Regions from separate parts of the Homo sapiens genome. Here regions 2, 3, 4, 5, 6 and 7 are each linked to region 1. The links are contacts of gene promoters, found by promoter capture Hi-C in blood cells and fetal thymus (Javierre and others, 2016). All regions are on one chromosome and are shown on one strand. The core of a region is centred on a gene start or on the middle of the fragment in contact, and the rest is flanking DNA. Distances in the headings are between cores, read along the strand shown.

What was found. The method cuts DNA at HindIII sites, captures the fragments that hold promoters and counts their contacts. A CHiCAGO score of 5 or more calls a contact.
Region 2: a contact is called between a fragment that was not itself captured here and the fragment with the promoter of B4GALT4-AS1 in region 1, in 3 of 17 cell types (naive CD8 T cells, total CD4 T cells and total CD8 T cells). The highest score is 6.9, in naive CD8 T cells.
Region 3: a fragment that was not itself captured here is called in contact with the fragment with the promoter of B4GALT4-AS1 in region 1 in 7 of 17 cell types (erythroblasts, megakaryocytes, M2 macrophages and 4 more); the score reaches 8.3 in erythroblasts.
Region 4: the fragment with the promoter of TIMMDC1 here is called in contact with the fragment with the promoter of B4GALT4-AS1 in region 1 in 9 of 17 cell types (activated CD4 T cells, naive CD4 T cells, naive B cells and 6 more); the score reaches 9.1 in activated CD4 T cells.
Region 5: a fragment that was not itself captured here is called in contact with the fragment with the promoter of B4GALT4-AS1 in region 1 in 7 of 17 cell types (total CD8 T cells, non-activated CD4 T cells, total B cells and 4 more); the score reaches 10.1 in total CD8 T cells.
Region 6: the fragment with the promoter of ADPRH here is called in contact with the fragment with the promoter of B4GALT4-AS1 in region 1 in 2 of 17 cell types (naive B cells and erythroblasts); the score reaches 5.1 in naive B cells.
Region 7: a contact is called between the fragment with the promoter of CFAP91 here and the fragment with the promoter of B4GALT4-AS1 in region 1, in 1 of 17 cell types (total B cells). The highest score is 5.2, in total B cells.

The regions. Positions count from the first base shown.
Region 1 is chr3:119,224,794-119,228,189 of GRCh38, forward strand. It overlaps B4GALT4-AS1 (B4GALT4 antisense RNA 1), which reads left to right and starts at 1,693. Exons shown (of 4, transcript NR_046574.1): 1 at 1,693-1,888. It overlaps B4GALT4 (beta-1,4-galactosyltransferase 4), which reads right to left. Exons shown (of 8, transcript NM_003778.4): 4 at 2,016-2,248. RefSeq lists a silencer at 495-667. The HindIII fragment of the contact is 1,940 bases long and covers 202-2,141 here.
Region 2 is chr3:118,872,632-118,876,106 of GRCh38, forward strand. No RefSeq gene overlaps it. Among named protein-coding and RNA genes, the nearest start is that of IGSF11-AS1, 69 kb to the right of the region's middle. The HindIII fragment of the contact is 882 bases long and covers 1,466-2,347 here.
Region 3 is chr3:119,682,808-119,686,602 of GRCh38, forward strand. No RefSeq gene overlaps it. Among named protein-coding and RNA genes, the nearest start is that of COX17, 7.3 kb to the left of the region's middle. The HindIII fragment of the contact is 1,303 bases long and covers 1,205-2,507 here.
Region 4 is chr3:119,496,724-119,500,087 of GRCh38, forward strand. It overlaps TIMMDC1 (translocase of inner mitochondrial membrane domain containing 1), which reads left to right and starts at 1,824. Exons shown (of 7, transcript NM_016589.4): 1 at 1,824-2,204. The coding sequence starts at 2,011. RefSeq lists an enhancer at 1,564-1,613. The HindIII fragment of the contact is 2,873 bases long and covers 1-2,348 here.
Region 5 is chr3:118,890,430-118,893,904 of GRCh38, forward strand. No RefSeq gene overlaps it. Among named protein-coding and RNA genes, the nearest start is that of IGSF11-AS1, 51 kb to the right of the region's middle. The HindIII fragment of the contact is 229 bases long and covers 1,525-1,753 here.
Region 6 is chr3:119,577,871-119,581,258 of GRCh38, forward strand. It overlaps ADPRH (ADP-ribosylarginine hydrolase), which reads left to right and starts at 1,622. Exons shown (of 5, transcript NM_001125.4): 1 at 1,622-1,981; 2 at 2,681-2,766. RefSeq lists enhancers at 1,226-1,727, 1,512-1,611, 2,552-2,771 and a silencer at 1,792-1,931. The HindIII fragment of the contact is 4,349 bases long and covers 1-3,164 here.
Region 7 is chr3:119,701,513-119,705,029 of GRCh38, forward strand. It overlaps CFAP91 (cilia and flagella associated protein 91), which reads left to right and starts at 1,510. Exons shown (of 18, transcript NM_033364.4): 1 at 1,510-1,710. The coding sequence starts at 1,587. LOC105374064 (a long non-coding RNA gene) reads right to left here and starts at 1,531. Exons shown (of 3, transcript XR_924391.4): 1 at 984-1,531. RefSeq lists enhancers at 1-329, 996-1,675, 1,669-1,718, 1,769-1,828 and a silencer at 1,389-1,558. The HindIII fragment of the contact is 3,012 bases long and covers 15-3,026 here.

The DNA.
Region 1 (3,396 bases), core at 443-2,942:
ATTGAGTATAGCTCTCATGTTAAATATTCTTACCACAGTTAACAAAAAAAAATTTTCTCTTAAAATTTTACAAATACCTTTACGTATTCTGTATAAAACTACAAAACCTTTCTTATATACTAGTCATGTCAATTAGTATTACTGCTTCACAGTTCAACCCTAGGTAATCCCAATCTTACCCTCTGTTATGAATTTACACTAAGCTTCTAAGAGACTTAGTTAATAGCTTGCCAGAAAGGATCAAGAAATCTCAACCTATAGAAAGAGAAAGTTATTGCTAATATTTCTAAGCTACTTTAAAGTTTCTCAGAAATCCCTGTAAGAGAATCCTGTTATAATGCTACTGGTGGAGGCTAATCCTCACAGTGGCCTTATGGAGGTAGATTCGTCACTGGGCAATAAAAGAACACAGTTTGACCTGTAATATGATTGAAGCTGTAATAAAAAAATTAAATAATTTTTTCATGGCTGCTTCATTCAAATTCCTTCAGAATGAATTCCAGTTAAGTGGTTTATCATAAAAGTGCAAGTATTTCTCAGAAGTTACCACAATGTTTTCCTGATAAGAATAACACGAAGCAGACATATTTTTCTCTTTCTCTTTTTCTTTTTTTTTAATTTGAGATGGAATCTCGCTCTGTTGCCCAGGCTGGAGTGCAGTGGTGTGATCTTACCTCACTGCAGCCTCCACCTCCTGGGTTCAAGTGATTCTCCTGCCTCAGCCTCCTGGGTAGCTGGGACTACAGGCATGTGCCACCACACCCAACTAATTTTTTTTTTTTTTTTAGTATTTTAACAGAGTATTTTGTATTTTTAGTAGAGACAGGGTTTCACTATGCTGGCCAGGCTAGTCTCAAACTCCTATCCTCAAGTGATCCACCCACCTTGGCCTCCCAAAGTGCTGAGCCACCGGGCCTGGCCCAAAGCAAACATGTTTTTCTATTCATAAAAATAGTACTATACCTTGTAGGTTACTGTCCTGAGCAAGAACTCAGAATCAAATAAATCATAACTATGACCAACAACCTTAAAAACAAAAATAGCTATAAAACAATATAATAGTAACATTTTGTTCCAAGTACTAAAATACAGACATAGGTGTGCTATATAAGCACACTGATTTTCAAGAGCCTCAGTTTATCACCAAGTCTATACTGCAGAGCTGGTCCTCTGAGTTGTCCAAAGTTTTATCTAAAAGAAATATTACCTGTTCTAACAGTAGTGATGATTTTGCTGACATTCTTAGAATTTATAAGAATTTGAGGGGGAATTATCCCTCTTCTTGGCCTCCTTGGATGGCCAAGGATAACTGTGAAAAGTTTAGACACTGATGTTTAAACTGATGTCTTAGTTTTCTTTCAATAAACTTTAATGCCAAATAGAGGTATCTTTAATCATCCACTCCACTGACCTCAGAGGTAAGCTCTTCAAAAGCAGCCGATAGTTATGCTGTGCTCCTACCAAATCATGCTTCTGGAAGTCAAATAGATGAATCCAGAAAGTGAAAATCAAACATAATATGTTTCACATAATAAATAGTGGCAAAGTTCAGGGCAGAAATGTGGTGGCAGCCATAGAGCACCACAGCTACTAATACAGAATGTTCTTTCAAATCCTCTGTCTAGATCCCCATTGAGTTGCTATGGTTGATAATGACAGACAATTCCAGAATCTCATCATATAGTGCATGGCACGCACAGAAAGAAACAGAAGGGGCCAGGAAGCCTCCGGGGAAATCTGAGGGCAGTCATTGGCTAACATGGAAGGGCTCACAAAACAGGCTTCCTCCAGAGGTTCCTTTAAGGGCAGTAAAATTTCCCAGAACTTGAACCCATAACTCCACACTCTGAGACAAGAATTTCCTCTACTCCTTTCAAGGATAAATGAGGTAAGAGAACTCGTTTTTGATGATAGTCTGATGTTCCTTTTACCCAACATAGACAAACAGTCACATGGCCAAGTCTGGCAGAGAAGAGGAGGGTCGAGGGCAGGCCCTGGTCTGCCCCCACGCTCACCTGGTGGATGACGTAGATGCCATAATCCAGCTGCTGCCTCTGCAGGAAGGGATGCAGATGTTCCAGCAGGTACATCAGGTGTTTCTCTCTGTTCCGGTGGGGAACGAGGATGGCGACCCTCTGTAAAGCTTTACATTCCTGAGGGCGATACCGGCCTCTGGACACTTTGGGATTTTCTGCCTGTACCTCTTCCAAAGTGAGATCTGGTTTGAAAATGAGCTTGCTCTGGCCTCCTACAATGAACATAGGACACAGACAATAACAGTAGCTACTTCAAAAAGTGTTGAGGTTTACACGAGCTAATATGCATAGAAAGAACACTGCCCAGCTCACAGTGAGTACTACAAATGTCAGCTTTTATTATGATTACTTTAAAGGCTCATTTAGTCATGATAATGGCCAGAGCATCATGTCACTAAGGTTACTGGCTGCAAAAGCAAGTGGTGGATATATAATATAAGCATTTCCTTGTGGCTGGGTAATCAACTTGCTCTATGATCCATCTGTAAGAGGGAATATCCTGGTGAACTCTGGTAAGAGCAAAGGGCAGGGCTAGACAGAGTAACTTCAACTTTGGTCTATCCTCTTTTCCTTCACCAAATTCCAGGAGGAGGGGAAAATCTCTTAAATATCAACAGCATTCCACAGAATCAAGCTCCTGGACAAGGCACTCTTCCCACCCCTTCCCTAAACTCTGGAACCACCCTGGCTCCCTGTAAGCAAAGCACTAAAAAGAAGTAGAAACCAGTCTCCCTCCCTAACCCAGCTGTAACAGGTATGTGTGGCACTGCAACAACTCTCCCATTTTGCCACCACAACAGACGTTTCCAATCGAGCACAGTATTTGCTCAGTGTCTGGAAGCAATCCAAACAGATGAAACCCAAAGCCATCCACAGGAGGAAAACAGCTCAGGTTTTTTTGTTTGTTTGTTTCTAAATTCCACGTATACTGGTCAGGCTGTAAAATCTCAAGATGCTTGCAAATTGAGCTATCCCCTTCTGAGTAAAGCAGTCATAGGCCCTTCCTGTGCGAAAGTCGCCATGACTTGTTCCATGTAACCATCCCCTACCCTGGCCATGGCTGCTTAGACCAGGCTCACGTGTCTAATGGCACCTTGGTGCTCTGCTCAACAGCAGGCAAGGTAAGTAACTTCTTCAAGCCACCCAAAGAGAATAATTGGCCTACGAGAGCCTTCCTGCAGGGTCTACATGCAAGACACAGCAGTCAGTAATGCCCTAAAAACAAACAGTAAGGAATGGAGTTACACAGATGACAACTACTAGAGCTGATGCTGGGCTATCGAGCTACCAGAGATAATGGGGTAGCTGTTGAGATGGTCTCCTGTGTGGCCTGTTCACAATCCCCATCGTTAACCTGACT
Region 2 (3,475 bases), core at 657-3,156, 350 kb before region 1:
GATAGAAGGATAGACTGGGTGGGTGGCCTGCATGACCAATAACACATCAGATTAATTTGTTTTATAATCAGCAACTTCTAGTATATACTAATCAACTTTGATCACTAGAAGTGTTGATAAAAATAGTCTTGAGTTCAATTGAGTTCCAATATTCAGATTCACAAACTTTTTTCAGCATCTACTATGTGCCATGTGTGAGGCCTGGAAAAACACAAATAATTATGAAATAGTTACCACCTTCAAGAAGCAAATAATTACAAAATGGTTCCCATCTTCAAGGAGCATAGTCACAGGACAAAATTAATTTGAATATGATATGTATATCCTATGATAAGTATACATTATCTTATATAATCACAGAAGATTTATTTTCCTGTCTTGGGCAATCAAAAAAAGCTTCAGGAAAAGATATCTCCTAGGAAGAGATTTTTCTATTCTTCTGTGGTGGAGATTCCTATTTTCATCATATCCTTTCACCATGAAAGTTAGGTTTCTAAGATAAGCAACATAACTTTCCTGAAGTTTTGTCTCAGAGCTATTAAAATAGAGATGTTGAAAGAGTCAACAAAGCTGTAATGTGAATGTGAAGATCTACGGAAAACTGATGTTAGATTGTGAACTCCTGACATAAAATAATTTGGAGGATGACTACTAGACATCATTTCAAGCTGTGGTGACCTTATAAACTTATTGCCCAAATTAAGACACTCTGAGAGTAATTGAGGGACACTATTAATAATTCCTAGGCTACAAATATAAACTGAGACTAACCTGAGTGAGCTGGTAATAGGGTCACTCTAGTGTAAGGCCATATTTCCAGTCATCTGGGAAATAGTAAAGACTTCTAACAACATACTTTGTAATGACCACTGGTCTTCCATATCACATTGAGGTTAAACTGCTTGTGAGGGATTTTTGAATAATATTCTGAAACATAAGATTAATTTTTGGCCTTGAAATTAAGCAACTTTTAAATGTTAAGTGCTATTGTCTGAATGTTTTTCAGAATTCATATGTTGAAACTTAATCCCCATGGTGGTGTTGTTATGAGGTGGGGACTTTAGGAAGATGATTAGTCATTCCGGCTCTCCTCTCATAAACAGATTAGTGCCTTATAGAAGATCTGGAGGGAAGTGGCTTAGGGTCTTTTTGCCTTTTTGGCCCTGCAAATATGTGAGGACACAGCAAGAAGGCCCTCACCAGACACTGAATGCTGGTGCCTTTATCTTGAACTGCCCAGCCTCCAGAACTGTAAGAAATAAATTTCTATTGTTTATAAATTACCCAGTCTGTCGTATTTTGTTATTAGCAGCACAAATGGACTAAAACGATGAGACTAAGATCACATCTGAATGGACCATTACTTAGAACAGGATGTGACCAGAGAGGAGGGTCCAGGAGAGCACTCAGCACAGCCACAGGGGACAGGCACTGGGGAAACTGAATCAGCCACTAATGCCAACAAAGCTTCCTGATCTACAGCACTCCTAAATCTTAGCTCATGTAAATACTCACCAGTGGCTGAGAGAGAAAGAGGAGGAGGAGCACAGGTAAAATCGGAGGCTATCTCAATTGGTAGGCAGAGACAATTGAAAAAGAATACAGGATAGGTAAGACTCAACAAGTCAGGTCAGGAATCCAATATCTAGATGGTATTAAAGCCGAGCCACAGCCTTGAATTCTGCCTGGAGAGACCTAAATCACAAATTCAATTAGTGGTACTGTGGCACTGGGGGAATGCAATAGTCTTAAATACAATGTTGACTTTGCACACATTTTAAAATATGTATTTATAACAATGAGACATTTCAAATAATAGTGATAGTGGCTAGTGTGCATTGAATAATGTTTCAGTGACTGTTCTAAGTGCTTCACATCTTAAATGCTGTAAACTATTATCCTCATTTTGCACTTGAGAGACTGAAGTATTGAGATATGAGCTGTGAAGTCTTGGAGGACACGGGAAGCAATGCATTTACCATTGTTGCAATTTTGTCACTTAAAAGGTAGACTTGGACAGACAAGAAATACAGCTCTTTTAAGGCAATGCCATTTACTTAAGAAGCACATAATGAAGGATTTGAGATTATCCTAGAGAGTGTCTCAAAGGGTAATATTTTTTAAATTTTTCCAACAATAGTGAGAATTTCCTGTTCACTTACACAATGCTAAGTTTGGTGCATTATTATAAATGCCCACTTTAATTAATACAATAGTACAATGTAGTTCACCTAGAATTAATGGATGAGGTAGGAAGCAAACTTGCTCCTATTTCTCAAAGAGGTGTGGAGAGAGACAGAAGTTAGGGAAAACTTTCTAATAAAAAATCAGCTGTTGAAATCAAAGAAGCTTTAGCATGAACCAAATTGCTAAGAACCAATGGCAAATTAGAAGAGGTTAACTAGGTGCTGGGATCCTAAAAAGAGATCTACCATCCAGAAACTCAGACTGGAATTTGATAACCTTCTGAGAAACATCAGATTATTGTTAAAGCACGTTCCAATAAACTAGAGCTCCTATTTGGCTCAGGATGAATGTTTTTAATTTTGAATACTGCTCTGAATTGCTTATCATGAAAATGTTTAATAATGCAATGTGGCTACAATGTAGGAAGCATTGTAAAGAGAGGCAGAAGGTGAATAATTGGGTAAAACAATCTCAATTTAAAATGAGCAGGGCAGCTGGTTCATAAAAGAAATACTGTGCACATGAGTGGAAGAAAATAGCTGGTGAAAAACAAAGAGAATCAAAAATAGTGTAACACAGAGAAAATGAACTGCAGTTCCTTTCTCTTTTAAGTCCTAAATAGAAAGCCATGTGATGTAAGCAGTGGGTTTCTATATTACCCAGAATCCCAAACAACAACTAAAGATCTAAAGATGTGCTTTTGGCAGTAGAGTTGGAGAAAAGAATAGATTCCAGATGACTTAGATGATGCCCCTCACGGAGGCCCAGGAAATATTTGCCAAGGCGTCAGCTACATGGACAAGGTAAAAAACATCACAGTTGGCCACACAAGACATTTGGGCCTCTATATGAAATTTATGTTCGTTGTGTGCTGTTTCCAAGTAAAATTTCAAATTAACTATTTCTTTGATAAGAAATCGCCATAATTCTTAGAGTGCTGAAAGGGAGAAAATGAACCAACTATAGTCATGGACAATGAAATTAATTGCCTGAGAATTTCCTGTAAAAGAGCTCTGGATTAGGTCACAACACACTTATGTTAAATGCCGTATAAGACATTCTCCAAAAAATATCCTAAATGGGGCCTAGATCTCCTGGCACTGTCATATAAGGAGTTCTGATGGGACTAAATTGAACAAATAGAAAGTAATCGTTATCTGTTAGAAAGGTGTAGCCAGGTCTTTCTGTACCCTTTCCAAAAGAAAAACTGCATATCTTCCATGAGAGACAAAAGTATGTACCATCTGCAAATTCTTGCAAAGACCTGTATCACATAAAAATTACCCTT
Region 3 (3,795 bases), core at 606-3,105, 460 kb after region 1:
CCAATATCAAAGTTATTTTAATACAAGTAACCTAAATGACATGACCTGATTTCACGAAGGTTGTGTATTAGTGATTTATTGCTATTACTATGGACTGAATGTTTGTGTCCTGCCATAATTTATATACTGAAACCGTAATCCCCAGTGTGATGATATTTGAAGATGGAGCCTTTGGGAGACAAGTAGGTTTAGATGATGTCATGAAGATGGAGCCCCCATGATGGTATTAGTACCCTTATAACAAGAGGAAGAGACCAGAGTCCTTTTGTTGTACCCATGTGTGGATACAACAAGAAGGCAGCACTCTGCAAGTCAGAAGTAAAGCCAGGATCCTTGCCAGGTACTGAATTGACCGGCACCTTGATCTAGGACTTCCCAGCTTCCAGAACTGTGAAAAATAAATATCTGTTGCTTAAGCCACCCAGTCTATGGTATTTTGTTATTGCAACCCAAGGAGACTAATACAGCTGTATAACAATATTACCACATACCTGGTGGTAATACATATTTATTATCTCACAGTTTCTGTAGTCAAGGGCATTACTTAAGTGACTTCTTTGATTAGGGTCTTACAAGACTTGAATCAAGCTTTCAGCTGAGACTGTGGTCTCATCTGTGGTTCTACTGGGGAAGAATATGCTTCCAATCTTATGTTGTTGACAGAATTCAGTTTCTTGCTATTGTAGGACTAAAGGCTTTGGTTTCTTGCTGGCTATCAGTTGGAGGCTACCCTCAGCTCCTAGAGGCCTCCTGTAGTTCCTTGCCAAATAGGGTTCCCAACATGGTCACTTACTTCCTCAAAGCCAGCAAGGGATAGAGAGCCACCCAGAAATATGGGCATTACAGTCTTATGTAAGAGAACCATGTAATTACATCTATCATATCATATTTGGCATATTCTATTGGCTAAAATACTTGAAAAGAGGGGATCACATGAGAACATGAACACCAGGAGGTCAGGATCCAGGGGCCACCTTAAGAATCTGTCTACCACAGGTCGATTATCTAAAGTGAAAAATTGATTATACAAATGGAGTCATTCCTGTTATACCCAACTAAAATTTAGAGTTAGAGGACCATAGGGGTGAAAAAACACTCAGGTCTCAAAAGCCTGCTCCAGAAACTGTCCCACAAGCCCAATCCAATGAAACAGCTGCTACAATTTTAAGACTAGTTTGACAACAAATGGCTGCCATGACTTCAAAGCTTGTTTTACCTAGTAACTTTTGCCACCCAGCAATCAGAGCTTGCCAGCTCCTGCAAAATGCCACAAGCACCAATAACCTTTCTCTTTTCCCAATGAAACCTCAACCATTTCCTTTTTTTTTTTTGAATATATTGGAGACCACTTCAGTTTGTATGTTTGTCCCAGATTGCAATCCTATTTCTTTGTTTATTTCAAAATAAACTCTTTTTGCTTGGAGATTAGTCTCTATCTGTTATTGACATTACATGGTGTCAGAAGTGAGATGCAAAGCAGATTCACTTGGAAAGATAATGGCCCCTGGAACTATGGTGTGCAGTACTCACTGTCAGACCCCTTGAGCCCCCTACTTCCGCTGGTGATCTTTTTTCACCCCAGTGAGTCTTTCTTGGGTTAAACACCCCTTTTTTTTTTTTTTTTTTTTTTGGATTTGAGTTCTTCAGCTTTATTTGGGATTTCTTTATGAAGGGCCTTTCCTCTCCTATTTATTAGGCCTCTATTTGTAAGGGATTTGAAGAAGGCTTTGTCATTCTTCCCGGTGAGTATGTACTTTACTCTTTGGTTCATTTTGTGTGCTTGATTTTTATTTTGGCTTTTGTGTGTTTGGCTTTGCACTGACTCACTTGGATATGTTTATTTACAAATGAACTCCCCAAATTCAAAGATATACCAAAATAGCCCCCCAACATTGGGGACTCTAGCTTGTTATATGCTTAATTATTATGGTCCATCTTCCTATTCTTTTTTTATCGCAATGGACCAATTACACTAAAGAAAATTTGGAATTACAATGGCCATCTCTTGAACTCCCTAACTTGTTTTCTTAGAACTAAATTAGAAGGCCATGGCTACAAAATTAAATTGCCTGAAAGGAGCATAAACTTTAAGTGGTATCTTGAAGCATCTAAATGTATTCAAGCCTCAAAAATCACCTAACTCCAAAATACCATCACTAAGTTAACTAAGACAGATAAACAACGAAAGGAAGATTTTAAAAGGCCTTAGAAACTCAGAGTTTTTCTGCTCCCCTGGTACCACCACCTCTCTCTCCTCTCTACCCTTCCCTTTCTGAAAACCCCACTCAATCCTGATACTTCCTCCCCTACTACCCTCCCAGCTTCTGATCCCCATCCTCAACCTATAAAAACTTGTCCCTGTAGGGTTAGACCCACTAACAATCCTGAGGTTCCTTAGATTGTCTATGCCCTTGGAATAAGGCTGAAATCCATGTTAAAGCCAAGGAATTTCCTAAAGTTACCCAGGACCCTCTTTGCTTTGCTGATGAATTTAACATTACAATTGAAGCTTACTAGCCCAGCTTCTCTGATCTTAATCAACTTGTCCACATGCTTGTGGGAGAAAGCCAGGCTAATCACTGGATGAAAAAGGTCAGTTGTGGCTGGGTATGGTGGCTCACGCCTGTAATCCCCACAATTTGGGAGGCTGAGGTGGGCAGATTACCTGAGGTCAGGAGATCGAGACCAGCCTGGCCAACAGGGCGAAACTCCGTCTCTACTAAAAATACAAAAATTAGCCAGGCCTGGTGGCACACATCTATAATCTCAGCTACTCAGGAAGCTGAGGGAGAGTCATTTGAACCCAGGAGGCGGAGGTTGCAGTGAGCCGAGGTCACTCCATTGCACTCCAGCCTGGGTGATAAAGTGAGACCCTGCCTTAAAAAAAAAAAAAAAAAAAGGAAAGAAAGAAGAAAAAGGTCAATTGCACACACCCTGTATTAGTCTGTTTTCATGCTGCTGATAAAGACATACCCAAGAAGGGGCAATTTACAAAAGAAAGAGGTTTAATTGGCCTTTGGCCTTACAGTTCCACATGGCTGGGGAAGCCTCACAATCATGGTGGAAGGCAAGGAGGAGCAAGACCCATCTTACATGGATGGCAGCAGGCAAAGAGAATGAGGAAGATGCAAAAGTGGAAACCCCTGATAAAACCATCAGATCTTGTGAGACTTATTCTCTACCACAAGAACAGTATGGGGGAAACCATCCCCGTGATTCAATTGTCTCCCACTGGGTCCCTCCACAACATGTGGGAATTATGGAAGTATAATTCAAGATGAGATTTGGGTGGGGACACAGAGCCAAATTATATCATTTTGCCCCTGGCCCTTGTCAAATCTCATATCCTCACATTTCAAAACCAATCATGCCTTCCCAGGAGTCCCCCAAAGTCTTAACTCATTTCATCTTTAACTCAAAAGGCCATGGTCCAAAGTCTCATCTGAGACAATGCAAGTCCCTTCTGCCTATGAGCCTGTAAAATCAAAAGCAAGTTAGTTATTTCCTAGAAACAATGGGAATACAGACATTGGGTAAATACACCTATTCCAAATAGGAGAAATTGGCCAAAACAAAAGGACTACAGGGCCCATGCAAGTTTGAAATCCAGTGGGGCAGTCAAATCTTAAAGCTCCAGAATGATCTCCTTTGACTCCATGTCTCATATCCAGGTCATGCTGATGCAAGAGGTAGGTTCCCATGGTCTTGGGCAGCTCCACCCCTGTGGCTTTGCAGATTACAACCTCCCTCCCGGCTACTTTCATGGGCTGGTGTTGAGTGTCTGCGGCTTTTCCA
Region 4 (3,364 bases), core at 574-3,073, 270 kb after region 1:
AAAATAAAATAAAATAAGCAGACTACAGAGGAGGGTGAGCATTTCCCTTGTTCTAAAAGAAGGTAAGCCGTAAGGGATTGGGGAAGTAGGAAATGTGGGAGGGCTCAGATGGAAGAGCAGCAACAGTGCGAGCAGTAGCCAAAGGAGAGGGGAGTTTTTTGAGTTATCAGGTGGCAAAAGGAACATTACAAATGAGTCTTCCGTTACCCAAATGAGAAACAAGTTATGGAATTTAAAATTTGCCTGTTAATATTACCTCATCTACAGGCTAGTGAATCCTGGGGCATTTGAGTTGTACATAAGTGATTGTGTCAGTATCTTCCCAACACCCACCCAAACCCTCCTACCCATTTCAAGTCCTCCTTCACCCCAGAATAATTCTGGGGTCATCTTATGCATTTAGCTTTTTCTACATATAGGTTAGAAACAGACTGTACAGCCATTTTCTTGGGCTTTCAGGCCTTGGTAACTTATCTTGGTGCCCACTTCTACCTAACATGGGATAAGCAGTAATCCAGAGCCAGAAGTCAGGAGATCTGAATTATTCAACAAATATTTACTGAGCACCTACTGCGGTTCTAGGTCCTGGAGATACAGAGATGAATATATTTGGTCTGTGATCTCAAGGATAGTTTATTGAGACAGATTAATAGGAAATTATGATGCAGTGTTGTAAGTGCTACGATGAGTGCTGAATCAAATCTCATATCCCAGAGTAGTCTTCATGGCGCTGTCACTAATTGAGCTGGTCACTCTAGTCAGTCACTTCTCAGGGACTTATGTGTAGCATTTCCAGCTATCAAATTCCTAAGTCCACTTACTGTATTCTACTACAGTGTGGCAGTTTTGATTGACAACTAGAAAGGAATCAAGGAGGTGAAGGGATTGGCAAAATGAATAAGGGAGTATGCTTGTTAACAAGGATTGAATGAAATTACACGAATATTGAGAATATTTTAAATGCATTCATTTTAATGAAAACTGTACTTCGAAGCATATGTTAGCAGAGGTTGTAGTGACGGCAAATTATACAAACACTTGATAGAAATTCCAGAAATTCTCCTGCCTTTTGAGAAGCAGTAGGCATATGAACTAAAGGGAGTGAAATCCACCTTAGGAAGACCTGCCAAAAAGCTGATTCTTCAAAAAAGTGTTCTCGAAATCTTAGTGTAACTGGCACCAACACCCATCCCCAATGCCTCGTTTTTTTTCCAGCAGAACTGACAAGGTACAAACGGACCCCGCCCAGCCTGGAAGGCTTCTCTAATGTTGGCAGAGTAGGTTGGACTTGTTTTTGCACAAATCGCCTTTCCCTCTTTCCCTACTCCACTTGCACTGAATATTGCACTTTCTTCCTTACTGAAGCGGGATTCCTGCCTTTTTTTTTTTTTTTTGAGACAGATTTTCGCTCTTGTTGCCCAGGCTGCAGTGCAGTGGTGTGATCTCGGCTCACTGCAACCTCCGCCTCCCGGGTTCAAGCGATTCTCCTACCTCAGCCTCCCGAGTAGCTAGGATTACAGGCGCCCGCCACCATGCCCGGCTAATTCCTGGCATTTTAAATACGATAAATTACTTCAACCTATGACCACCTCAAGCTGAATATAAGTAGCCGCAGACACCGTTTGCATGACCCAGGAACCACAAACACGGAGCGAAGGCCTGCCGGGACCACGCTGAGCTTCACTACTGGCAGCCAACTCACTTCCGGGGGTGCACTCAGCACAGCAGTGGCCCAACCCGCCCTCAACCGGAAGTCTTTTGGGCTCCGGCTTCGCCGTCGCCCCGCCCCCTGGCCTTTGCCCCGGTCGGGCGGGACTTCCTGTGTCGTATTTCCAAGGACTCCAAAGCGAGGCCGGGGACTGAAGGTGTGGGTGTCGAGCCCTCTGGCAGAGGGTTAACCTGGGTCAAATGCACGGATTCTCACCTCGTACAGTTACGCTCTCCCGCGGCACGTCCGCGAGGACTTGAAGTCCTGAGCGCTCAAGTTTGTCCGTAGGTCGAGAGAAGGCCATGGAGGTGCCGCCACCGGCACCGCGGAGCTTTCTCTGTAGAGCATTGTGCCTATTTCCCCGAGTCTTTGCTGCCGAAGCTGTGACTGCCGATTCGGAAGTCCTTGAGGAGCGTCAGAAGCGGCTTCCCTACGTCCCAGAGCCCTATTACCCGGAATCTGGATGGGACCGCCTCCGGGAGCTGTTTGGCAAAGAGTAAAAGTGCCTAGGGTGTGAAGTGGGGTAGGGGGCCGCGAAAGCGGTGTCCTGCAGCGTGGGCAGCCTGGGTCAGCCTTAGGACACCAAGGATGGTGTGCTTCATTTTTAGATTATATTTGAGGTTCTGATATTTGTAACCCAAGCTTGTATCTTTTTTCTTTCTTTTTTTTTTTTTTTTTTCCAGACAGGGTCTTGCTCTGTCGCCCAGGCTGGAGTGCTGTGGTGCTATCTCGGCTCACTGCAACCTCTGCCTCTGGGACTCAAGTGATCCTCCCACCTCAGCCTCCCGATTAATTGGGACTACAGGCGCGCACCACCACGCCCGGCTAATTTTTTTTTAATGTATTTTTTATAGACAGGGTTCTTACCATGTTGCCTAGGCTGGTCTTGAACTCTTGGACTTAGGCGATCCGCCTACCTCGGCCTCCCAAAGTGCTGGGATTACAGGCGTGAGCCACCGCGCCAGCCCAAACTCGTATTTTTCTTTCTTTTTTTTTTTTTTTTCGAGACTGAGTCGCGCTCTATCGCCCAGGCTGGAGTGCAGTGGTGCGATCTTGGCTCACTGCACTCTTCACTTCCCAGGTTCAAGCGGTTCTCCTGCCTCAGCCTCCAGAGTAGCTGGGATTACAGTTGCCCACTACCATGCCCAGCTAATTTTTGTATTTTTAGTAGAGACAGGATTTCACCATTCGCCAGGCTGGTCTGGAACTCCTGACCTCACGTGATCTGCCTGTTTCCGCCTCCCAAAGTGCTGGGATTACAGGCCTGAGCCACCGCGGCTGGACTGCGCCCGGCCTAGAAGGGCAATTATTTTATAGTAACTTAATACTTAAGACAGCTATTTGTTAGAGCAGTCTCAGGATGACATCTTGGAAGCTTCATTAGCAGTTCTAGCTTCTTATGCATTTGAGAGTAACAAATCGAATTAAATAGTAGTTTTTCCTTGTTATTTTAGATTGGCATGTGCCACCCACTGCATAGTGAACTTTCCCAGTGCGTTTTTAAAAAAACATTTATTTGTTTATTTTTAGAGCCAGGATCTTTGCTATGTTGCTATGCTGGATTTGAACTCGGGCTCAAGTCCTACCTCAGCCTCCTAAGTTAGCTGTGACTACAGGCGTGTGCTACTGTGCCCAGCCCAGTGCTTTTATTAGTAC
Region 5 (3,475 bases), core at 389-2,888, 330 kb before region 1:
GGAGGTGTGGGCTGAGTTTACACAATGGGGGCTTTCAGCCCCATTTACTTCAGAAGAGCTTTGCCCAAGAAGCCTGATGAGAGAATTGCCCTTTTCCCCTCCTTTCCAAAATGTCAGCCCGGATTGTTTCAAGAACTAGGGAGAGCAGTGTACTGATCTAAATCATTGAAATATTCCTTGAAAATTTAAAATTACCAGAAATGCACCGTTTCTTTTTCTTCTGAAAGCACAAACATTAGAAAATACTATATAGCAATTAGGAGCCAGGTTGCCTATATTTGAATCCAGGTCCCAGGTCTTCCCATATAAACTTAGGCTAGTTACTTATCACTTGTACCTCGGTGTTATTATCTGCAAAATGGGATAGTGTTTGTACCTATCTCATACAGTGGTTGTGAGGATTAAAATGATTTAATAGATGTAAAATGCTTAGAGCAGCACCTGACACATAGTTTCCTGTTACTCGATACTATTCAGAAGAGGAGAGCTCCAAGCTGGATCCACCCATGAAGCTGCTGGAAACAAGTCTGCTTAATAACAGATATTGTAAATACTGGACCACAGGCCACACAGACCCACAGGAATGTATAATTAAGCAGGATTTAACTTAAAAAAATTCATTGCCGACATATACAATCCAAGAGAGATACAAATAAGCATTTCTGGCTTCTCTTGAAGATTCAAGAGACCTGGCCATCCTGGACCCAAGTCCTACTGACCACTCTTGGTGGGAGCTGAGTAGCTGCTAACCTCTTTAGGCAGGGCATAAATCTCCAAGTCACCATGCTCCCCATCTGGCCCAGTTCTCTCATTTACTTTACCTTCACAGGCATTTCAGGTTGTGATCTCTATACTAAAGGGATTGGGGCTCAGAAATCACAGCCTCGCCTCTACTTACATCATAATACAGGATCAGCACTGTGAAGTTGGAGGGGTGAACACACCTTGATCTCTGGATGACTGAGAGAGGGGAGGTGAAGAAAAGAGTTACAACCTGGTTGTATGTGAGACTCAGGTCTTCTCTAATCTCTCCAGTAGAACTTCCGTTTTTCTCCTTATAAAATTCAAATACATGACTTAAAAAGTAAACCAGTAACAGCTACAATTTATCTATACCATTTTATATACATTATCTAATGGTATCCTCAGACCTATGATGTAGCAATTATAATCTCCATGTTATATCCCCAGAGAGGCTAAACAGCTTGCCTCAAGTCAGTAGGAAGTGACGGAGCTGGGACTCAAGTGCAGGCCCAGGGTAGCAAAAGGCATCCTTCTACGTAGAATTTCCTCCAAATTCACCATGTCTTCAAAGACCTCTGTGTTCCCCTCAAAACTTCTCGCCTACGGGAATTTCCTCAAACGCATCCTCCCCTAGCAATAGCTCTGACTGTAGAGCTGAAGGTGGTAAGGGAACTAGTGTTTTACACAAATTGCAAATGCCCTAGGAAAGTGATGAGAAAGAATTAAACGGCTGTGAGACCCCCCCGAGTGTGCAGAAATTAAGAGGAGAAAAACTCAAAAAGCTTGACCGCATGGAAAAAATTATTCTAATAGTCTTATAAGTCAGAGATGGTAATTTTATTAAATAATTTTTTTAATGGGCAAAGAATGACTAGAAAGAATAAAGAACTCTTGTCTATGCCAGGCCAAATTTGAGGCAGTACCAAGACCTTTACTATTTATTGGCTATCTTAATGGAAGGACAGTATATGGCAACAGATGAGCAATGCCCTTGGCTCTACATCTTACAAGCTTTATGACCTTGAGCAAGGTACTTAACCCATGAAAGCCTGTTCCTTCATCTGTAAAATTAGCATAATACAGTACTAAAATTGAAAGTGTTGAGGATTCTATGGGATATACACAAAGTGTCCAGTATGCTGTCTAGCATACAGTAGGTGCTCTATAAATGCTGATGTTCTCCCACCCTCTTAATTATCCTCAGCGATTTGAAATTGATAGTAATCAGAAGATAAGTGTGTTATTTTGGAACAAAATGTGAGGAAAAGGGAAATAGGAGAAAGTATTTGGGTAGACAATAATTACCGAGGCTTCTCCTTTCTCTTAAACAAAAAAATGTCCCAAATTGCTATTTTATATGCAGTAGCACTCAAATAGTACTTCTGGCAAAAAGAGTTGAAATACTGAGTAGGTGTAAATGACATAGCTATTGCCTAGAAATTTAAAGCTTCTGAACTACTACGAATAATGGCAAATATCAAGTGTTTACTATCACCAGACACCATGATATTCATCTTATGTGCATTATTTCATTTAGTACTCACAATCTCAAAGATAACTATTATATTGTTTCTATTTTGTAGATGAAACTGAGCCTTAGAGAATTTTGTAGTTTGTCCAATGTAATGGACAACTGAAGCTCATTCATATATATATATATACACACACACATACATATATATATATATATAGGCATACAATCTTGTCCAAGCCTCAAATGCAAAACTGCTGCAAATCTGATAAACTGAGGGAGCAACTGATGGATGATAGAGAAATATGGCTTCAATGTAAGTTATAATAAGCTAAATTATCTATTCTAATCTGACCTCCTAAAATTAATCAGGTATCAACTGACCTCACTGTGTTAAATACATAGTAGGCACTATACTTATTGCTTTGTTTAATAAACTTGTCTCTATCATTAATGTCTTATGATTAAGTCAGAATTTTGTGCCTTGCCTTTACCTAAAATAGGGAAATAATACCTTCTTCACAAGGAAGCTGTGAGGAAAAGCTATAAATAGCTGTATACACATAGAATTTACAAGTCAACTTTTCTCTGAATTGCATTTATTGTCTCAGCATTTTTTCTGTGAAGTTGAATATCATCTTACTTAACACAAGTGATTTGTCCAAAAGAGGGCTATTTGAAGGCAAAACGACGAGGATCCCAGATCTTTCTTTTTAGACATTGGTTCAGTCAGACAGAAATATCTACTGAGAAAAGCAACTGACAGATTACTGAATAGTCTGGGAAAAATGTTTAACCACCTCAGTTTCTGAACTTGTAAAATATGAGTGATGATAGCGTCCATGTAGAAGTGTGATAAAATTAAATAAATTAGTACTTGAAATGCATTTTTTCATGTACTGCCATGTAATAAGCATAACAGATATTTTCACACAAAACCCTTCATAATTACTTAAGATTCTTCCAAACCACTGCATTAAGAATGTTATCTCCACAGCTTTCCCAAACAATACTGCATCTCTAATATAACATCAAATGCCCCCAAGGAACTGGCACAATCATTTGCCACATGAGTAAATGACTCTGATGTGGCCTTGCTTTGGGAATATTCTAATATTTGACTGCTACTTTTAACACTGAAGTTAAGAGACCAAATCATATATTTTCAGTTTCATGAATTTAGCGCATCCTTCAAGCACTTTCTCTGAATACAGCAACGTGTTAAGTGTTGTGACCACAACCAAGATATAGAAGTAGTAG
Region 6 (3,388 bases), core at 372-2,871, 350 kb after region 1:
TGCATAGCTAAAAGTCATGTAGCTAGACGATACATAACTAAATTCCACTTGCCTCCTTATAGATAACTTCTCTGATAGGACACCATGGAAAATATTGCTTAAGTTATTTTTCAGGAACTTAGAGTCAGTTCTTGTCCAGTTCAAGCCACCAGCCCTTCATCTTGGCCTGCGTGAGTGTCCAATGGGTGACCTTTTGACATCAGAAGGCCCAAAACTCCACTCTCAGATCATGCTAACGTCACGATTTTGTGAACATGTGTTCTATGAACAGCCATGAAGATTGACTATGCTTGCTCAGATTACCGATTGCCTCACTTTTCCTTACCTCATCTTTCTCTGAACCTTGGACCACCTTCCTCCCCTATCCCATAAGCACTCCTAAAATTCCATCTTTGGAAAGGCACATTTGAGGCCTGTTCTCCAGTCTCCTGTCTTGGCTGCCTTGTGAATACACCCTTTCTCTACTGCAAAACTTGTGCGCCTCAGTGATTGGCATACTGTGTGAAAGACAAATGAGCCTGGTTCCCTGACAGGAGCTGAGCTGTCTCTTCCTGCATGCAGCCAGCAATAAAGATTCCTCTAGGAGAGGTATGTTCTCCACGCCAGAGCGAGAAAATAGCTCTCATCACCAGAGATTTGGAACTGGAGGTGGCATTTGGACTGGAGTAAACATTCTTGCAAAGTAACCATTATCTTCCACCTGTTTTACACCCCACCCCCCATATATCTCCTAGGGGCTCCCCTAGAAATTTTTTACCACCCTAGCCGGATTTTCTTTGTCCTGTCACTTCTTCTTAAATTTATCACTCTTTTTCTAAAAAGTATAAAAGCATCTTGCTTTGGACACTTTCTTCAGGATTCAGTCTCTTAACATCCCCATGTACATGTAAAATTAATAAAATTTGTATACTTTTCTCTTGTTAATCTGCCTAGTGTCAATTTGGCTTCTAGATGCAGCTGATTAGCTCACTAAGAGCTAGAGGGTGTAGGGGGTTGGAGGTGATCTCTGCCTCCCTTATTGGTGAACTTGATTTTTGTAAACACTCAAAAGTCACTTAGGCTAGAGTTGGAGATGGAGATGGTTATTCACTGGGAAGGCCACAAGAGAATGTTTTAAAGTGATGGAAATATTTCATATCTCGATTATGGTGTAAGGACATTTCATTATATATAAATTATATATCAATTTTTTAAAAAGCTCTCAGACCAAGGCTAGTCATTACAGCAAGAAAATAGGCATAGCAAATTTAAAACTTTGGAGAAATATATAGAATATTTGCATATGGTGATTCTGATTTGCTTTAAAAGTGACATGATTAATGTATTTAGACAAAAATACTCTTCGTTTTTCTTTGCTTTTATTTACGATCAGGATACAAGAATTCTACGCTGCTGCCAAATAAATGACTAGTTAAAATTAACTAACTGAATCCTTAACAACCATTCTAAGAGGCAGATATTATTATCCCACTTTATGCGTGAGGGCCCAGAACCCTGGCAAGGGCGGCACACTCAGTACGCTCTTCAAGCATCTGGGCACACCCGGTCCACTACAGTCCTACAAAGTCGGACGTGAGCACGGGCGAAGGCGTCAGCCGGGGCCACACGGGAGTCACTGACCACAGCCAGGCGAGAGCCGGCTTTCCGGTGCCGCCACATTCCGGGCACCAGGCTCCGGGCTCTTCAGAGCATTTGGGGCGGGCGACGGAGGTCCCGTCCACTCTCGCTTGGGTGCAGAAGGGCGCGGCGGTGCCAGGAAGCCGCCTTGGAGGCTCCAAGATTAGCTCACTCAGCGCGGCCAAGCGCAGGTGCGGGGGCCCTCGCCGCCACCCTGCTTATCTGGGGACAGTCCCGGAACCCGGTGACCCGGCTCCGCCCCAACCCGCGCCCTCGTCCACCCGCAGCAGCCAAGGCCTCTTCCCCGGCCCCGGGAGCCCGCGCCACGCCCGTCGCTCGCGCGTTCCAGTCCAGGCTACAGCAGGTATCGCGATCCCGGCCCTCGGCCCCGCGCTCCCCTCCCCCGCCCCTGGCGCTCTCCGAGTGTGGCCGACCATGAGGATTCCCAGTCTTGCAAATCGTGGGAGCGTGTCAACCGCCCCGTTTCTTTCCAAAGCCGGGCATGGCCCGGAAGCAGCTGATCAGATCTTAGTTCTGAATGTATAGTTCGGGTACGAGAATGTGACCCGTGAAAGTTCAGAGGAGTTAAGTAATTACAGCGTTCTGAAAGCGAACGTTAAAGGGAATTTACAACCGAAAAAAGATGCCGGTCTTCTTCCCCCATCCCAGCTTGCAATTCACAGAAGCACACATTAGGGTGGAGCCAGAAGGAATTACGGAAAGGACAATGAGGACATTGAGAGGGAGGGTATGGGGGGTTAAAGTTAGTCCTCCGAGGCCAAGAAGCAGAGTGTCTTGGCCTAGTGTCTGAAAATCGCAGCGCAGGACGGAACTTCCGAGAGCCTATACCTCCCCACTTCCCCCTCCAGTTTACAGATGGGCAAACCGCTGTCCCGGGTGTCTGTCAGGTCTAGTAGCCCAGAATCTCAGTGCCTAGGCTTCACTGTAAATAATAAACTATGTAAATAACATTTACAAATATCCTTTGTGAGCTCAGAAACTCAGCATTACCAGTAACTGGGTAGTGGAACGCATCCATCTTCGTCGTTTACTCCTTCTCCAGGGGCTCTCCAGCCTGCATTCCATGGCCAACAGCAGTGCAGCTGCAGAAGCACTTCTGGAAGCCTCCTGACTTGAACTAGACCTTGGGTAAATAGGGTTTAGATAAGTGGAGGGGAGGGAAAAGTTTCACCTGAGGGGAGAATGAGCTAGTCTGCCAGACCCTTATAAAAGTATTGGCCTGGATGGGATGGAGGGCTTTGACCTGAAAGCCACAGGGAGAAGGGAACCCTGAGGAATTGGCTGAAAGAGGGGGGTTCTTAGGAAATGCACCAACAGGGAAGCCAGCGCTTTACCAGGGATTTCATTCATGGTGGGTATATTATTAATAGAGATTCGAATTCTCTAGAAGCTGATCATTTCTAAGAGAAACAATATTTAAACATTACTGTCGAAGGAAAGGTTGTGGGGAGAAAATGTTCTAGTTCTAAAACAGAACACCCATTTTCCCTGGTTGTATATGAATAATACAAATATGTCAAAAATCAAGCTTACTATGTGCCAAGCACTCTAAGAACTTTTTTTTTTTTTTTTTTTTTGAGACAGAGTCTTGGTCTGTCGCCCAGGCTGGAGTGCAGTGGCACAATCTCGGCTCACTGCAACCTCTGCCTCCTGGGTTCAAGCGATTCTCCTGCCTCAGCCTCCTGAGTAGCTGGGACTACAGGCATGCACCACCATACCCGGCTAATTTTTGTATTTTTAGTAGAGATGG
Region 7 (3,517 bases), core at 260-2,759, 480 kb after region 1:
TTCCACCACGTGGAAGCTTTACTTTCGCTTTCCCTTTACTTTTGCTTTGGCTTTAATAAATCTTGCCACCGCACAGTCTTTGGGTCCACGCATTTCTCTAGTGAAGCTGTAACACTTGCCACTGTGGTCCACGGCTTCATTCCTTGAAGCCTGTGAGACCATGAACCCTTCGATCGAGAAAAACCTTTGATCGGAAGAAGACTTCTCGTCTCAACATTAAAGGACAAAGAAGCCAACTCTAAGGCATGCCATTAGCTTTAATAATCTGAGTGTAATAAATAATAATGATCATAACGGATTAAAACATCAGATCTGTAAAAAATGCATGCATTCATAATGATATCAAACAAACAAAAACTTTGTGGTTAACTCTGGAGTTTGGTAGGGCACCAACTCATGTCTCTGAAATTTCATAATTAAAAAGAACAAATCCAGCATTTACCCAGTCTTTCCTCTATGAGATTATCCTGGTTATCTCAGGATAACCAATGAGTTGGTATGAAAAGATTCCTTTTATAGAAGAACCTCTGGTAATAATAGAGAATTATTGAAAGGATTAGAAATTCACTGCTCTAGGATAAAAGACTTAAGAGACATACCAAAATGCAACATGAGGACTTTTTTTGGATCTTGACTGGAACAAACCAACTATAAAAGATAATTTGGACTCAAACAGGAAAATTGGAATTATTTATAGTACTAAGGAATTATTGTTAATTTTGTTAGATATGATAACGGTAGTTAAATTTTTAAAATCTATGTCAGTTTGAGATGCAGACTAATTTAAGGGTAAAATAATATTATGTCTAGGATTTCTTTAAAAAAGAGGGGAAGGAAACTGAAACTTGATTGGCAAAATGTTGCTAAATGTTGATTCTGAGGGATGGGTTACTTGAGGGTTTGTTATTAAAAGTAGAATCACTTTTGCTTATGTTTAAAATTTTCCATTATAAATAGTTTTCAAAAGCAGAGCCAGTGCCTACCCCACATCATCTTCTGTTATTTAATGCCCAGGACTCAGAAAGGGTCAGCAGTCTCAGATCAACAGTTACTGATGTCCTAACCCATCCTAAACACTGATGCTAATGAGTGTGGGGCAAAGTTCACAGCGTGCTAAGGAGCAACATTTAGGAACCTGACTGGATTCCGCAGCTCTCGGGACAAGCCCCCTGGAAAAGGGCTGGGGGGAGGGGCGGGGAGGCACCCAATTATTCTAGAAGGTTCTGAGATCTCCCAGGGATTTCCGAGAGGCTACGAGGTGTAACTGGCAAATCAATGACTTAAGAGTAGCTTTCTCCCAGCCTCCCCGCTGGCTCTGGAGTATAGAGGGAAGCCAGCCTTTTCCTCCCCCATCCTGCCCCTCCCCTCTCTTCTCATCTTCCCCTCCACTCTCCTCCTGACCCTGGCCTGGCCACTCCTGCTTTCACTTCTCTCCACTCCTCTTCGGCCCCGCCCCGCGGCCTCCTCCCTCCTCCTTGCCCCGCCCCCTATCCCTGCGCGCCGGCGGCCGTTACCATAGCGACGTGCACGCAGTAGCCAGGCCTGACCCGCTGGTCCCTTGCTGGCGGGAGGAAAGAGGCGGCACCATGAGCCACGCAGTAACCATCGAGGAGCCCCAGGCCCAGCCGCAGGTGTCTCAAACTCGGTACCGGGAGAGGTCGCGGGCTGGGAGCCACATCTCCTCCAATCGAGCGTATGATTTTCTGTACGGTAAGGACCGCCGCAGACCTTCCTCCGCGTCCGTCGCCTCCTAGGCCAGGTGGGCTCCCAGATGGTGGGACCTGGCCAGGGGCATGGCGAACGAAACACGACCCTCTGGACTGACCTCTTGCCCACGGTTGTCCTTGGTCGGGTGGGGGCAGCTCCGAGCCCTCCAGGTGGCCGCACTCAGGTTGGGGTCGGGGGTTCGGGTACATCGAAAGGCGCGGGTGCGCTCCGCTTCGGGGGGCGATTTTCCTGAAACCTGTTCCGGGCGTTTTGGTACCCAGAAAGTGTGCAACGATTTGTACACTCGGAGATTCACTCAACGTTCCTGCATAAAATGCCCTACAAAAATGATCTTTTCTCTCCAACTCTCTGGGCAAATCCAAGTTGGGCGAAAAGAAGTGCCAGTTTATCCCATGCTTGTTTTTAGGTTTTTTGTTGTTGTTGTTGTTTGTTTTTTTTAACTTCTGCGTCAAAGCATTGCTTATAGACTGGGTCCGCTGGCTCCTCTTGGGCCAATAAAACCCCAGTTTATTTTAACGGCTTGGTTGTCCATTTTATGTTTTCTCTCTCTCCACGCTCCTTGAGTTCCTTAAGTTCCTGTTCTACACATTTTTGTAGCCTTCTGAGCACCTATTCTAGTGCTGATACATATACTAGGCGCTTCAATAAATAAATGTTTATTGAATTTGCCGTGGCAAGAACTGTAACCAGCTATAAGCATGATTTTTTCCAATTTTGCCCTCTGCAATCCCAGGTTTTTCACCTGAACCTTGCATTGCTTTCAGCAATGTGGTGTTGCCTCTGGGAATCCCAGTCTCCTTTGTGTGGGAATCTAGGGTACACATTCCTAGATAGAGGCTGTGTAATGATTGCTGACATATTCTGGCCAGTGTTTTTCTGTATTTACTCTTGGTTTTGTGAAATAAATCAAGTTAGCTCCTGTAAACACATCACCATGTTTTTTTTTCACGGGTAATTTGAGAAGGAGGACAAACATCTCCCCAAAGTATTTATTAAGCTGGTTGTTTCTTTGATGCCGAAGTGTCTCTTTTGCAGAGGAATTGCTAAATGTTTCCATGTCCCTTGCTAAGAACAGAAATTCACTCAGAGTAGATCAAATAAAAGTTTGGATTGTTATAAAACAATCTCGCCGCTAGTCATGGACAGGAAGCGAAGTATAGCCAGGGCGGATGAGAACCTGGATGGGGAAAATCAGAACTAAGATGCTGTGCTCTCCTGCTTTCTTTCTTTGACCTTATGACCTTTCACCTTGTTAGGGTTGCCACATTTAGCAAATAAAAATACAAGAGGCACCGTTAAGCTTGAATTTCAGATAATGAATAATATTTTAGTATAAATTTTTGTCCTGTGCAATATTTTGGAACACATTTATACTAAAAAATTATTCATTGTGTATCTGAATTTAAATTTAACTGGGCATCCTGTATTTTATCTGGCAACTCTAGCCTTCTTTCTATGTATAATCAAGCCCCAAGTAATGATATTTCGGTCAACAGTGGACTACATGTATAAGGATGGTCCCATAAGATTATAATGAAGTTGAAAAACTCCAATTACTTCGTGACATTGTAGCTGTCATAACATTGTAGCCCAATGCATCACTTTTTCTGTGTTTAGATATACAAATACCATTGTGTTACAACTGTCTACAGTATTCAGTACAATAACATGCTGTATGGGTTTGTAGCCTAGGAGCAATAGGCTATACTATATAGCCTAGGTGTGGAGTAGGCTATACCAGCTAGGTTTATGTTAAGTACCCTCTGATATTTACACAACGATAAGCTCA